3 separate regions of the Homo sapiens genome follow, and regions 2 and 3 are each linked to region 1. The links are contacts of gene promoters, found by promoter capture Hi-C in human tissues and cell types (Jung and others, 2019). All regions are on one chromosome and are shown on one strand. The core of a region is centred on a gene start or on the middle of the fragment in contact, and the rest is flanking DNA. Distances in the headings are between cores, read along the strand shown.

Region 1 (4,440 bases), core at 1,346-3,845:
GCTTATAAGAGAAAGGCAGAAGGAGATTTGAGACACAGAGACATGGGGGGGAAGGCCATGTGGAGACAGAGGCAGAGATTGGAGGTGTGCTGGCACAGAGGCAGAGATTGGAGGTATGCTGGCACAGGCCAAAGAACACCTGGAGCCACCAGAAGCTAGAAGGGGCAAGGAAGGATTCTCCACTCGAGCCTTTGGAGAGGCCCTGCTGACACCTTGATTTTGGACATCTAGCCCCCAGAACTGTGAAGGAATCAATTTCTGTTGTTTTTAGCCAACGAAAACATTAGTTGCAGTAATTTGTTATGATAATCTTAGGAAACTAATGCAGCTTACTCCCAACCCATCAGTAAATCATGACAGCTCCATCTTCAAAATACATCCAGACCGTGTGCCACCTCCACCTCCATTAGGGACACTAAGCCATCATCATCTCATTACTGGTCATCCTGCACTCATCCTCACATGGACTGCAGTCACACAGCAATCAGAGTGTGATCAGAAATTGATATCAAATATTGTCAGTTCTCTGCTCAAAACCCTCCACGTGCTTCTCATTTCTCTCAGAGTGTAATCAAAGGCTTTCCCATGACCTACAAGGCTAGACACGATCTGGCCCCACTCCCTGTCCTGTCTTCTTTACCATTCTCACAGTCCTGCTTCCCTGTTGTCTGCGCACATGCCGAGCACACTCCATCCTTAAGTCTTTGCATGCCCTTCTTTCTGTCCGGATAAGCACAGGCCTGCTGCATTACACGTCTCTGCTCACATCTCACCTATTCAGAGAAGCCTTGCCCATTCATCCTATCTGAAGTGGTCTACTCCAATTACTGTCAATATTACATCACTCTTTGTTGACTCCTCAAACTGCACATCACAAACAGTACTTACTTTATTTTCCTGTTCCTACCCTCTCTCCTATTATAAAGAACGCTCCCTAGGTATCAAGACCTTGTCTGTCTTGTTCGTTACTGCATTTCCAGTACCAATGCTCAGCACATTGCAGCCACTAATAAATATTTGCTGAAAGGATGGAGAAACCAACATACCTTATAGCTATTAAGGGTGTTGATCAGAGAGGATGAAGATGGTTATCTGTCTTTAGCACCACCCCAAACAGCACGATCCGGACAGTAACCTGGATCTCCACCTACACACATTCTTAGAGGATAGGAGCCACCGCCAAAGAAAACCGCCCATGGTAGTTGCACAGTGAGATCTGAAGTCAGAGTATTGCTACATAGTATTAACTTTTCAGTGAGGTATTTTGGAATGCTTACAACTGTGAAGCTCAAGAGATAGATTAATGTGAAATCTCTAAGTGAGTTCCTGAAAAAAAATTGAGAACAACAAAAACAATTTTTTATATATTTAATGCTAAGCAATTTAAAAAATGTTTTCGGACAGGTGCGGTGGCTCACGCCTGTAATCCCAGCACTTTAGGAGGCCGAGGCGGGCCGAGGTCAGGAGTTCGAGACCAGCCTGGCCAAAATGGTGAAACCCTGTCTCTACTAAAAGTACAAAAATTAGCTGGGTGTGGTGGCCTGTGCCTGTAATCCCAGCTACTCGGGAGGCTGAGGCAGGAGAATCGTTTGAACCCGGGAGGCAGAGGTTGCAGTGAGCCGAGATGGCGCCATTGCACTCCAGCCTGGGCAACAGGGCAAGACACCATCTCAAAAAGACAAAAAGTTTAAAAAATTTTCATATGCTCTATTTTATTTGAGTCTGTCACCTGCCTGATTTAGGGATGGTGGATAGTATTATTCTCAGTTTGCAGGTAGAAATATGAAGACTTATGGAGACTAAGTGACCTGTACAAGGGCAGGCAACTGTACAACTGGCATTAGAGTAGTCTCAGACTCAAATCAAGACTTCTGATTTGAAGTTCCTTATTTTCCTCTATCGCACTCCATTAATTTATTTAATGTACATTATTGAACACCAACTATTTCAGGTACTGTGTTAGGTGCAGCATATAATAAGAAAGTTGATAATCTGTCTATTTTACAATTAAAAAAAGAATGTGCAATACATGCACTTGGGGAAAAATTCAGTACAGTAACTGCTACTCTTCTCCCCTCTCCCTCTTCTCCTAATCCCTCTCTCCTGATATAATCACTGTTATCTGGAAATCTTTGACTATACAGGCTAAGTCCCCTGTATCTGCCGCGAGGTCCTTCCTGGAGGTGCTGACTGGACTAGCTGATGTTGGCTAGATGACCGCCAACCAGATGACCTTGGCTAACTGATCTTATCCCTTGGGCCGCTGTGGCACAGGATGAGTGAGCTACGCCTGGTAACAAGAGTGCCACTCTCGTGTAAGGGGGCTGCGAAGTAGAAAGGAGGCCAGCCCTTTGGAAGATGTTTCTAGAGGGTGTGGGCAGAACCAAGTCTCGGTAGTTAGGAAGATCTTGGCTCCAAAGTTTAACTTGCAGCGTCCCGGCCGGGTTCACAGCGCATGGGACAGGGGGGGCGGGGCGATGCGGAGGCGGAGCGGGGCGATGCGATGCGGGGCGGAGCGGGGCGGGGCGGCGACGCGCGGCGCGGTGCGGCGCGCGGCCGACGTGGCAGCCGCAGGAGCATGCGCCGCCCGTGGCCATCTTGTAGGCGGGGACACGCCGAGGTAACTTCCAGGGTGCGCCTTCGTTGTCTTCTCCAAGCTGTAGTTCTACGTCCCGACCTCCCTATCATACCACACTCTTCAGCGACCACGCAGGCACTTTCCCGGTCCCCAGGTGAGCGCCAGGTGGCTCCGAGGGGCGTGTATGAGGGGGGTGGCATGGCATGGCATGGCTTGCAGGCGCCAGAGCCAGACCCCGAGGGACGGTGTCCCTGGAAGGTGGGCGGGCCGGCCGGCGCCACTGGACGCCGATGTCGTTTGCGAGCCCCCTAGTCCCGTGGTCCAGGCTCAGCTGTGGCGGCGTGCGGGGTGCAGCAGGCAGGAGTGCACATCGCAAGGTGAGCAGTTTCCGCTGGGGATGGCACGGTGGGCGCGGTTCGAGGGTCTCGCCCCGCGACACTTTGCTCCTGTCCAAGGACCAAGGCAGGAGCGCTCTGGCCCCACCTTCCAGGGCGCTGACTTTAGGGGAGACTGGCGGGAGCGCCGGCGGACCTTAGCCCGGCCCTGTCTGGCCTGGAGACGTGGCAGAGCCTGAGGGGAAGCCGCTGTCTCCTGAAACAGGATTTCGGCCGCTCTGGCCCTGGAGAGGCCCAGGAGGCTCGAGAGTCATCACACCAGGACCTGCAATGAAAGGAAGCTTATTTTCCCTGAGGTTACCCCATCGGTGCTTAGCGCCGCTTGGGAGAGTTTTTGCATTCTCTCGTTTCTTTGTTTGGTCTTGGGACCTGCTTCAGGCAAATTTGCAGATAGCACGTTTCCTAGATTGACAGAATTTATAGCCAATAGTGTTTTTGTCATTCGAAGTAGTTATTTTGAGAGACAACATGTGCATTTCTGCGATCGTGACACATCTTGGCATTCAGTCTTTCTCCTGTGCAGCCAGTGTTTAATTCAGTGAAAATTTATAAAATTTTATTTCGGGGTCAGATTAGGCTCTAACTAGCGCTCACTGTTTGGTAGTAGAGACAATCTTGTGGCACGAGTAGGTCAGCAATAATTGCTCTTAATGCTTTAAAGTTTATCAGAGCTTCACTCTTCCATTTCTTGTAAACTTGTAAATAGACATCCACTTTTTTTTTTTTTTTTTAACAGAAAAACCAAGGCACAAGCAAATTGGAACAACAGGGTCTAGCCGGACTGAGAACTCAGTTTTCCAAACCATTTTCTTCACTTTTTCTTTAGTGTTGATATATGAATAGTACTTTTCGTGACAAGACTTGAGCCCTAAAACAGTTACCAACTCTGACACTTCAGTATTGTTTTATCATAATAGGTTTTTTTAGTAGAAGGCACTATGTTTATGCATGTAAAATTTACCTCAGTATTGCCATTACGGCAGTTTTCATATAAAAAGCCATTAAAGACAAAGAAATTGATTATTTATTCCACTTAATGACTTTGTATTCATTGTACAGTTTCTTTTGCAGACACATTTGTTAATGTTAGGGATTCTCTTACAATAGGACTTCTACTAGTCATTGTAAGGATTGGGGAGCATCTGTAGTAGAGGGTGAATGACCAATAAAAAATTAAATGAAGAAAAGAGGGAGCTTTGGTTGAGGAGTGGTAAAATCTCCAAAGGGGCATTTCTATCTCAGGTTATTTACCTTCGATGTATAGGTACTGAATGAAAGGATTCAGCCTCCCCGGATCCCTGTTCTCTGCTTAGTGCCATAGATCTTTCCTACGTTCACAGCCAAACTTTTTGAAAGTGTCATGCGTGTTAGTCTCACCTGCCACTGCTCGATTCAGTTTACACTGGAATCTTTCTCCACTCTTTATATGAAAACCGTTCTCCCTAAATTCATCTCCAGTTTGGCAGA
Region 2 (4,440 bases), core at 1,035-3,534, 670 kb after region 1:
ATAATGAAATTTATGTTGCTGGTATTTTGCATTTTAAAGTGATCAAGATTCATTAGGCAAACTTTGGTTTAAGTAAACATATGTTCAAAATCAGATTAACAGATACAGGTTTCATAGAGAACAAAGGTGATCATTTGAAGGGCATGCTGTAATTTCACACAATTTTCCAGTTCAAAAATGGAGAATACTTCGCCTAAAATACTGTTAAGTGGGTTAATTGATACAAGTTTCTGTGGTGGAAAATTTATGCAGGTTTTCACGAATCCTTTTTTTTTTTTTTTTTTTTTTTTGAGACGGAGTCTTGCTCTGTTGCCACGCTGGAATGCAGTAACGTGATCTTGGCTCACTGCGACCTCCACCTCCCCAGTTCAAGCGATTCTCCTGCCTCAGCCTCCCTAGTAGCTGGGACTACGGGTGCACGCCACCATGCCCAGCTAATTTTTGTATTTTGAGTAGAGACAGGGTTTCACCGTGTTGGCTAGGATGGTGTCTATCTCTTGACCTTGTGATCCACCCGCCTCAGCCTCCCAGAGTGCTGGGATTACAGGTGCGAGCCACTGCGCCTGGCTGGTTTTCATGAATCTTGATAGACATCTATAACGTTATTATTTTCAGTGGTGTGCAGCATTTTTGCTTCATGAGTATGACCTAGGTATAGAGATCTGATAACTTGAATTCAGAATATTAAGAAAATGAAGTAACTGATTTTCTAAAAAAAAAAAAAAAAAAAATTTCTACATTATAACTCACAGCATTGTTCCATTGCAGGTTTTGCAATGTTTGGGGGTAAAGACAGTAGAAATATTATTCAGTAAACAATAATGTGTGAACTTTTAAGATGGATAATAGGGCATGGACTGAGTGCTGCTATCTTGAAATGTGCACAGGTACACTTACCTTTTTTTTTTTTTTTTTTAAGTTTTTCCCATTCAGGAAAACAACATTGTGATCTGTACTACAGGAACCAAATGTCATGCGTCATACATGTGGGTATAAAGTACATAAAATATATCTAACTATTCATAATGTGGGGTGGGTAATACTGTCTGTGAAATAATGTAAGAAGCTTTTCACTTAAAAAAAATGCATTACTTTCACTTAACACTAGACACCAGGTCGAAAATTTTCAAGGTTATAGTACTTATTTCAACAATTCTTAGAGATGCTAGCTAGTGTTGAAGCTAAAAATAGCTTTATTTATGCTGAATTGTGATTTTTTTATGCCAAATTTTTTTTAGTTCTAATCATTGATGATAGCTTGGAAATAAATAATTATGCCATGGCATTTGACAGTTCATTATTCCTATAAGAATTAAATTGAGTTTAGAGAGAATGGTGGTGTTGAGCTGATTATTAACAGTTACTGAAATCAAATATTTATTTGTTACATTATTCCATTTGTATTTTAGGTTTCCTTTTACATTCTTTTTATATGCATTCTGACATTACATATTTTTTAAGACTATGGAAATAATTTAAAGATTTAAGCTCTGGTGGATGATTATCTGCTAAGTAAGTCTGAAAATGTAATATTTTGATAATACTGTAATATACCTGTCACACAAATGCTTTTCTAATGTTTTAACCTTGAGTATTGCAGTTGCTGCTTTGTACAGAGGTTACTGCAATAAAGGAAGTGGATTCATTAAACCTATTTAATGTCCATTCTTATATCTGTTTAATAAGTCTTTGCCAGCTTTGTGGTTTTATCTCATTTCGATAACTATTGCTTCATTCATTTCTGAATTTTTAAAATAGCTTTTACCTTAATATTCACGCCCTGGAAAAGTCGTTCACTATTCTTAAACCTTTGCAATAATCACTGTTGATGCTCACAGTATGACTGAACCATCTGAGATGCAGCTCATTATGGTATTTTTTTAAGTGACCTAGCTTTTCTAATTCTGCTTTATCTTTGGGCCAGATCTCTCATTTGTGAATGAGGAAACTGGAAGATTAAAAGCGATTCATAGTCCCTGAATATAATCTGATTCTTTCCTTCCAAAGATTTTTGTCTAAGCTCATTTAGAGTTTTAGAAAGCATTTTCATTTTCTCATTTGAATATGACTGTAGGTGTGTATATATGCAGGACAGCTATTTCTTTTACTCTTGAGAAAGCAGCTTGGAGCAGTTTAGGGAGTTTTCCAAGGTCATGGGGTAAATCAAGGAAGGATATTGGTCTAGAGCCCAGGTCTTTTATCCCCAGGAATTTCTTTATTATGCATTCACTGCTGGCTGATCCATAAGATAGATGGCTGGGATAGATTGGTCATTTCCAGATTGGTCATTTCCAAATTACTTACACCTGTCCGCCCAGTAAATGTGTGTTCAGGTAAGGCAAATTATAGTTAGAAATATAGGTTGGCTACAGGCTGCCTTTAATAGGTTTGAAACAAAATGTAAATATCCATTTTTTGATTTGTCATCTTCCTTATTCTCAAGCCACTATTCAGGCCAGTTTACTCACTTATTTGGAAAGCTAAAAGAGAATTTGAAGGCAACTATGTATGTGACATTTTCTAATATCAGACCATCCAACAGTTTTTAAAACAGGAACATCATTCACCTTTGAGCCAGCAGGCTTTTGTTGTTCACTCACCAGGAAGAAAAGATAAATCCATTTGATATGCTTCCCTCTTTATGTTTATGTACCTATAGGAAGTTTGTAGGTCCAGAGGAAATAGATGGTAGTTTAATGTTTAACTTTTGGGGAAAAGATGGTACAAGTTCTAGGATATGCTCAATAGAAAGTACTATTTAGTTTCTCTAGTTCAGATAATAAATACAACATGTTGGTGGGTTAACCAACTTGACATATTTTTTTTGGTAGTAGTCGAATACCTAAGGATCTAAGTCTCATTGTCCTGTATGGAATCTGGTGGCAATGGTGATGGACCTGTTTTACCTATATGATGGGCATTTAACATGGTCTGTTAAATGATAGCATTAAGAACCTCAGCCCATTTTTTTCCCTCCTTAAATCTACCTTTTAATTTTTTCTTAGACAAGGTAAAAGTTTGAAACTATTAGGGAAAATGTGAATGCCTCTGCATTTGTCCCCTCCTGCTGTGCAGCCTTCCTTGTGGCTGCTGTCCTCACAGATCAGGAACTCATTCCCCAAAATGATAGTGTATTGGTAACACATATCCTTTGTTCCACGATTCTAGGATATGAATACAAACTACCAGTGTATTCTACCCAAAGCTACAAATGAAAATAAGCTTACTTTTTTGATCCACAAAACAGGATCAGGATCCATTGGTATTGAATGCCAAAATCTGACTCAATACTTGTCAGAATTTTGTTAGAATACTACCGAAGCTTTTGAGGTAGAGAATTGTGGAGGTTTCATCCTGGAAGAGTTAACTTCGTCTTAAGAAAGCAAGCAATTTATAGGGTGACTTTATATCCAGCTATTATATCTCTAAGATATACTAAAAAAGACAGTTTTAAAATTAAGTAGGCACTGTTCATATTTATTTATATAAGGTACATATAAAGGTGTATAACTACTAAAAGATACTACATTTGCTCTTTTACATTCTAAATTAAGCTTCAGTTGAGCCATTTTTTCAAGGAAGTCACAATTTGAAAAGGAGCAATCTATAGGCATGCATTTGGATAACCAGAAAGTCACAGATTATTTTTAAGTTTACAACATTTTTGCTTAAGCCATGAAAACTATCCTCTGAGTTCCTAAGAAATGTTACTATTTAAGAAATTTAGAAGATGACAAGGACAGTTTGGGAAGGAGGTGGCTGGTGACAGTGAGATGAAAAATTATGCTCCAAGAAAAGGTTTATGAATTGCAAAATATGTGCCTTTAAGTCTTAGTGTCATATTTCCTTTTGGGAAATAGTGAACTGTGAAGAAGTTAGTTTTTTTCTGAATTTTTAAATCTGTTGACACAACCAGCACCTTCTGTTAGCTACACGGTGCCAGTCTCAGAGCTATAATAATCTACATCTTTCAGGTAGTCTGTTTTCTCTGTGGTCTTTCCATCAGTAAAGACTATCCATTGCTTACTGTCCATGCCCTTGTGAGTTTAGTAGTATTAACATAAATTTCGCACTTGGGTTTTTTCAGAAAATTGGTAAGGAAGCACAGGTATATTTTGTATTGAAACATTGATTAGAACAGTGGTTCCCAAACTTTAGTGTGCCTCAGAATCAATGGCAGGGCTTGTTAACACATACTTTAGTCCTGCCACATAATCTCTAAGTGAAATTCTTCACGTAGGCTACTTCTCAATATAACCTCCCTTCTTTACACTTCCTTTTGTCCTTTCTTTCATGGTATACATGTAACTTCCATCTCCCCTTAACACCAGCTGTGAATTCAAATGATTATCTCCTTTCCAAATTGCTCAGTGTTTCCCTTTTATATTAGGTCTTTGTCAGTGGCAAGAACAGAACCCAAAGGTGGGTAACAGAAAAAGG
Region 3 (4,440 bases), core at 999-3,498, 560 kb before region 1:
TACACTGTTAAAATGAATAGGTCTCAGATTTTTGTCAGAACCTGTTTTTAAACAGTTTTCTTCTAGTCCTCAAATTGTCCATCTGTACCGCAACCTAACGATTTCTTTTGTCTTCAGTTACCCTGAAGATATTTTTAAACCAAGCCTCTTTGTTTATAAATGAAGAAACAAAGATGCAGAGATCTTATATTTCCCATTCAGGTTTACACAGCAAGACAATTAGAAAGCTTGAACTAGGTCCAGGCATGGTGGCTCACGCCTGTAATCTCAGCACTTTGGGAGGCCAAGGAATGCAAATAGCTTGAGCCCAGGAGTTCGAGACCAGCCTGAAAATACAGTGAAACTCTGTCTCTACTAAAAATACAAAAAAACAAAATTAGCCAGGTGTGGTGGCGGGCACCTGTAATCCCAGCTACTTGGGAGGCTGAGGCAGGGGAATCACTTGAACCTGGGAGGTGGAAGTTGCAGTGAGCCAAGATTGCGCCACTGTACTCCAGCCTGGGCAACAGAGTGAGGCTCTGTCTCCAAAAAAAAAAAAAAAAAAAAAAAAAACCAAAAAAACAACAACAAAAACAAAAAAACAAACAATAACAAAAAAAAACCCAGAAAGCTTGAACTCAGATCTTAACCTGCATCCCAATCCACTTTCCACTAATGCCTTCCTCACTAAAAGTTTCCATTTTCTGTGAACATTTTACTTTCATCAGTAGTTGAACGAAACTGCCCATTTCACCAAATCTTTGTCATGACTAGGTTTTATCATTTAAAACATCTCTTTGAATTGGCAGGTTAAGAACGGTGTTTCTTTCTTTTTAAAATATGGGGTCTCACTATGTTGCCCAGGTTGGCCTGGACCTGCTGGCTTCAGGTGATCCTCCCACCTCAGCCTCCTGAGTAGCTGGGACTATGGGCACATGCCATGGTGCCACTGTGCCCGGCTAAGAATGGTATTCTTTTATTAGAGTTTTTTTTGACATAAACATTTTAGTAAATATACATTAAGTAATAAATATTCCTTTAAAACTTTATCACGTTTCTTGGCCATAGTATTTAGTCTTTTTTATTTGTCTATTCATGTCTTTTCCTTACTTTCCTATTGAGTTATATTTTTTGCCTTTTTATTAGTGGTGCTTAAGAATTCCATGTATATATTAAAGATAGTAACCTTTTGTCACATATGTTTAACTTTAAAAACATTCAGTTATTTGTCTTCTAATTTTGTTTACAGGCTATTTGACACATAAGCTTTAGAAGTTAAACCTATCAATCATTTTTTCTGCAGTCTCTTCCATCATTCCTGTACTTCCAAGTGCAGATAAATACTCATCCTAGATTTTTCTATAGCTTTATGATTTCATAAAACCTTCAATCCATTTGTAATTTATTTTGGTGTATTGCATGATGTTAAAAAGTAACTTTCATTTTCTCCCAATGGTTTCTCAATTGGATCAATCTTATTTTTGATAACTTCTTTATTTATATGTCATCTTTATCTGTAGTAAATTCTTATACATACTTGAATCTGTTCCTAGATTCTGCTTCATTAATCTATTTTTGTAAAACATCACATTTAAAAATTATTATAGACTTATAATTCATTTTTAATAACTGGTAGAGGAAGATTCCCAACATTACTGTGCTCAGATTTTACTCATCATTTCTGTTGTTTATCCTTCCTGATATTTTTAAAATCATCATCTAAAATTGTTACCTTGTTAAAAATGTATTTAAGCTGAACAATAATATAGAAAGAATTGTGTCTTGCAAATATTTAGTTTTCTCATCTAGGAACATAGTATTTATTCAAATTTTCTTTTATTTTGCTCAGTATTTTAGTTTTCCAAATATAGATTTATTACTGAATATTTTATACTCTTGTAAATGGGACATTTCCCATTACATGTTATAACTACTTATTGCCCATACACGGGAAAGCTATTGATTTTAGTTTTATTTTGTATACAGATTTTTATTATCAAATTTTTATTTATTACTTTGTGTTGATTCTTTTAAGTTTCTAGGTAAACAGAAATATAACATACAAATCATGGCTATCTTTCTCCTCCTTTTCTCTGCTTTCTGTTTCTTAGATGGGCAGTAGCTTCCAGAATAATACTGAATGATCATGATGACAGGGAATATCTTTGTCTTGTTTTACATTTTAATAAGGTTACTTGATTTTAATAAGGTGCTTCCAGTTTACCATTAACCGTCCTCTATATTGTTTCTCTGGCCAAGACAAGTGATTATATTAAGATGTATATTAGTTTAATAAATGGTCTAGCTTGCTTACTTTTTCTTGAATTAAAGCTTTTTCTTTACAGAGTTCAATTTTCTTAAACTTCTAAAAGCCCACTGCTTTTGTATTCTGTATTTTTTCTTTTTCATGATCTAATTCTTCATATTCCATTCTAGGTCCCTAGTTACTTCTGATCTAATCTGCTCATCACTGCCTTTAAATTAATTAATCTTTGAATCCAAAAAGGGTGTCAGGACTGGGAAGTATATAGAAGACAGATCAAGGGTACTGAATATTCTTCTAGTTAATAATCAAATGTGACTTTTTTTTTAAAAATGCCACTTGTTTACTTGAATAGAAATTGATTGATTCCTGGCACACAGAGGAGACAAGTTGACAACGGCCATTTGACTGATTTTTAAGTGTAATGTGCAATTAAAACAAACCTAACTCCACAATGATGGGGCTATTTTAAAGCAACATAGGATCCAAGTGAATGAGCTACCACTAATGACCAACAGTGGAACAATCTAAGTAACGAAATAAGTGAAGTATTATATTATTGCCAAAGTATAAAATGAATACCCATTAGTCCACACTGCTTTAAATAAATGATTGAATAAATAAAGGGGAAGGGGGAGAAAAGACAAATCTCTTGTGCAGATGAAATCCAAATAATTTATGTGGACACTGACCAACACTGACCATAAGGAAGTGGAGCGTAACTCCCTATTCCTTGAGTATAGGCCATCTCTTCCAAAGGCTATAGTATGGAAAGGGGGAAGGAATAATTTTACTATGAAGAAACCTGACAAACGCTACCTCAGCCAGGTGATCAAGGTCAACATCAACAGTGATAGGGCATGTTGGTAGTATGTTTCCTTGATATGATGTGATGAAAAATAGCCCTTTACTTCTATGGGCTTCCTCCCTTAAATCCATAATCCCAGTCTATTTATGTGAAAAACAGCAAACAAATCCCAAACAGTCCCAAAAAAGGGACTTTTTACAAAATAGCTGACCAGCATTTCTCAAAACTATCTAGGTCATCAAAAACAAAGAAAGTCTGAGAAACTATCCCAGCCAAGAGGAGTCCAAGGAGGCAATGAAAACTAAATGTATCATAGGCTCCTGGATGGGATCCTGAAACACAAAAAGAATGTTAGGTAAAATCTAAGTAAATATGAATGATGTATGGACTTTAGCTAATATCATAATAATGCATCAATCTTGGTCCTTTGTTCTGACAAATATACCACACTAATGTAAGACATTAATAATAGGGGAAAGAAGGTGCAAGGAATAGGGAAAATCCCTGTAATATCTTAGCAATTTTTTCCTGTCACTACAAAACTGTTCTAAAAAAGAGTTTATTTAGAAAATAATCACACCTTAAATGATCACGGCCAATAATTTTTGAATGTTCTTAAAGCCGTAATTACTATACCTCCATGGAAAACAACTCAGTAACTAATAGACAGTAAGCATTGCTTGGTATTCCGACCAGCAGCACTTCCTCTACTAATTACCAATGTACCTTTGTCTCCTAGGTTATTAGTTAGTTATAGTTCCACCGAAGGCACTCAGTTATGCTCTAAGAGCTCCTCTGAGAAAACCGCAAGAAGAAATGGGCATAAATTGCAGCAGGAGGGGTTTGAGTTAGAGTTTTAGAATGCTATGAAGTCAAGCTGTGTGATATTCCCTGCTAATTATCTTTCCAACGGTCCATACAACGGTTTGATCCAGCCTGGTTTCAACCCATCTTGGAGTAAATCCAGCAAGAACGTGACTTTCTACTGTTTCCAGGAGGTCCTAAGAGTTTTTATATCTTACATAGAAAATTTCCATAAACTAAAAGTTGGCATAAGTGGTGCCATTCACCTAGAAATTGTTCATCAAATTGTTTACGGTTTCTGCTATTCTCTCAGTTGACACATGATTTACTAATTTCGTTCCAGAGATTTGAGTTCAGGCTGTATAAATCATGAATAAAGATTAGTTTAATAGTCATAATGCCCCTTGGGACAATGTTTCAAGTGAAGAAAACTCAAAATTGTCGCAATTTGAAAATAATGACAGTTGTATCAATATTTGCAAATTGAAATGATATTCAATACCCTTACAGAAGCAGAGTATAAATCTTATTCCTGTTTAATGCAAACCCTAAAACTTTTCTTTTTAATTTTTTAACACTTATTAAT

Evidence for each region. Contacts are between HindIII fragments. The study calls those that stand out against the background at their distance.
Region 2: a contact is called between a fragment that was not itself captured here and the fragment with the promoter of PRRC1 in region 1, in 1 of the 25 tissues and cell types used here (spleen).
Region 3: a fragment that was not itself captured here is called in contact with the fragment with the promoter of PRRC1 in region 1 in 1 of the 25 tissues and cell types used here (aorta).

The regions. Positions count from the first base shown.
Region 1 is chr5:127,515,045-127,519,484 of GRCh38, forward strand. PRRC1 (proline rich coiled-coil 1) reads left to right here and starts at 2,596. Exons shown (of 9, transcript NM_130809.5): 1 at 2,596-2,732. RefSeq lists a silencer at 2,464-2,533 and an enhancer at 2,594-2,773. The HindIII fragment of the contact is 6,341 bases long and covers 1-4,440 here.
Region 2 is chr5:128,188,024-128,192,463 of GRCh38, forward strand. SLC12A2 (solute carrier family 12 member 2) reads left to right here. Exons shown (of 27, transcript NM_001046.3): 27 at 1-1,654. Among named protein-coding and RNA genes, the nearest start is that of SLC12A2, 110 kb to the left of the region's middle. The HindIII fragment of the contact is 3,650 bases long and covers 460-4,109 here.
Region 3 is chr5:126,956,120-126,960,559 of GRCh38, forward strand. The region is part of intron 1 of MARCHF3 (membrane associated ring-CH-type finger 3); the gene reads right to left. Among named protein-coding and RNA genes, the nearest start is that of MARCHF3, 72 kb to the right of the region's middle. The HindIII fragment of the contact is 3,661 bases long and covers 419-4,079 here.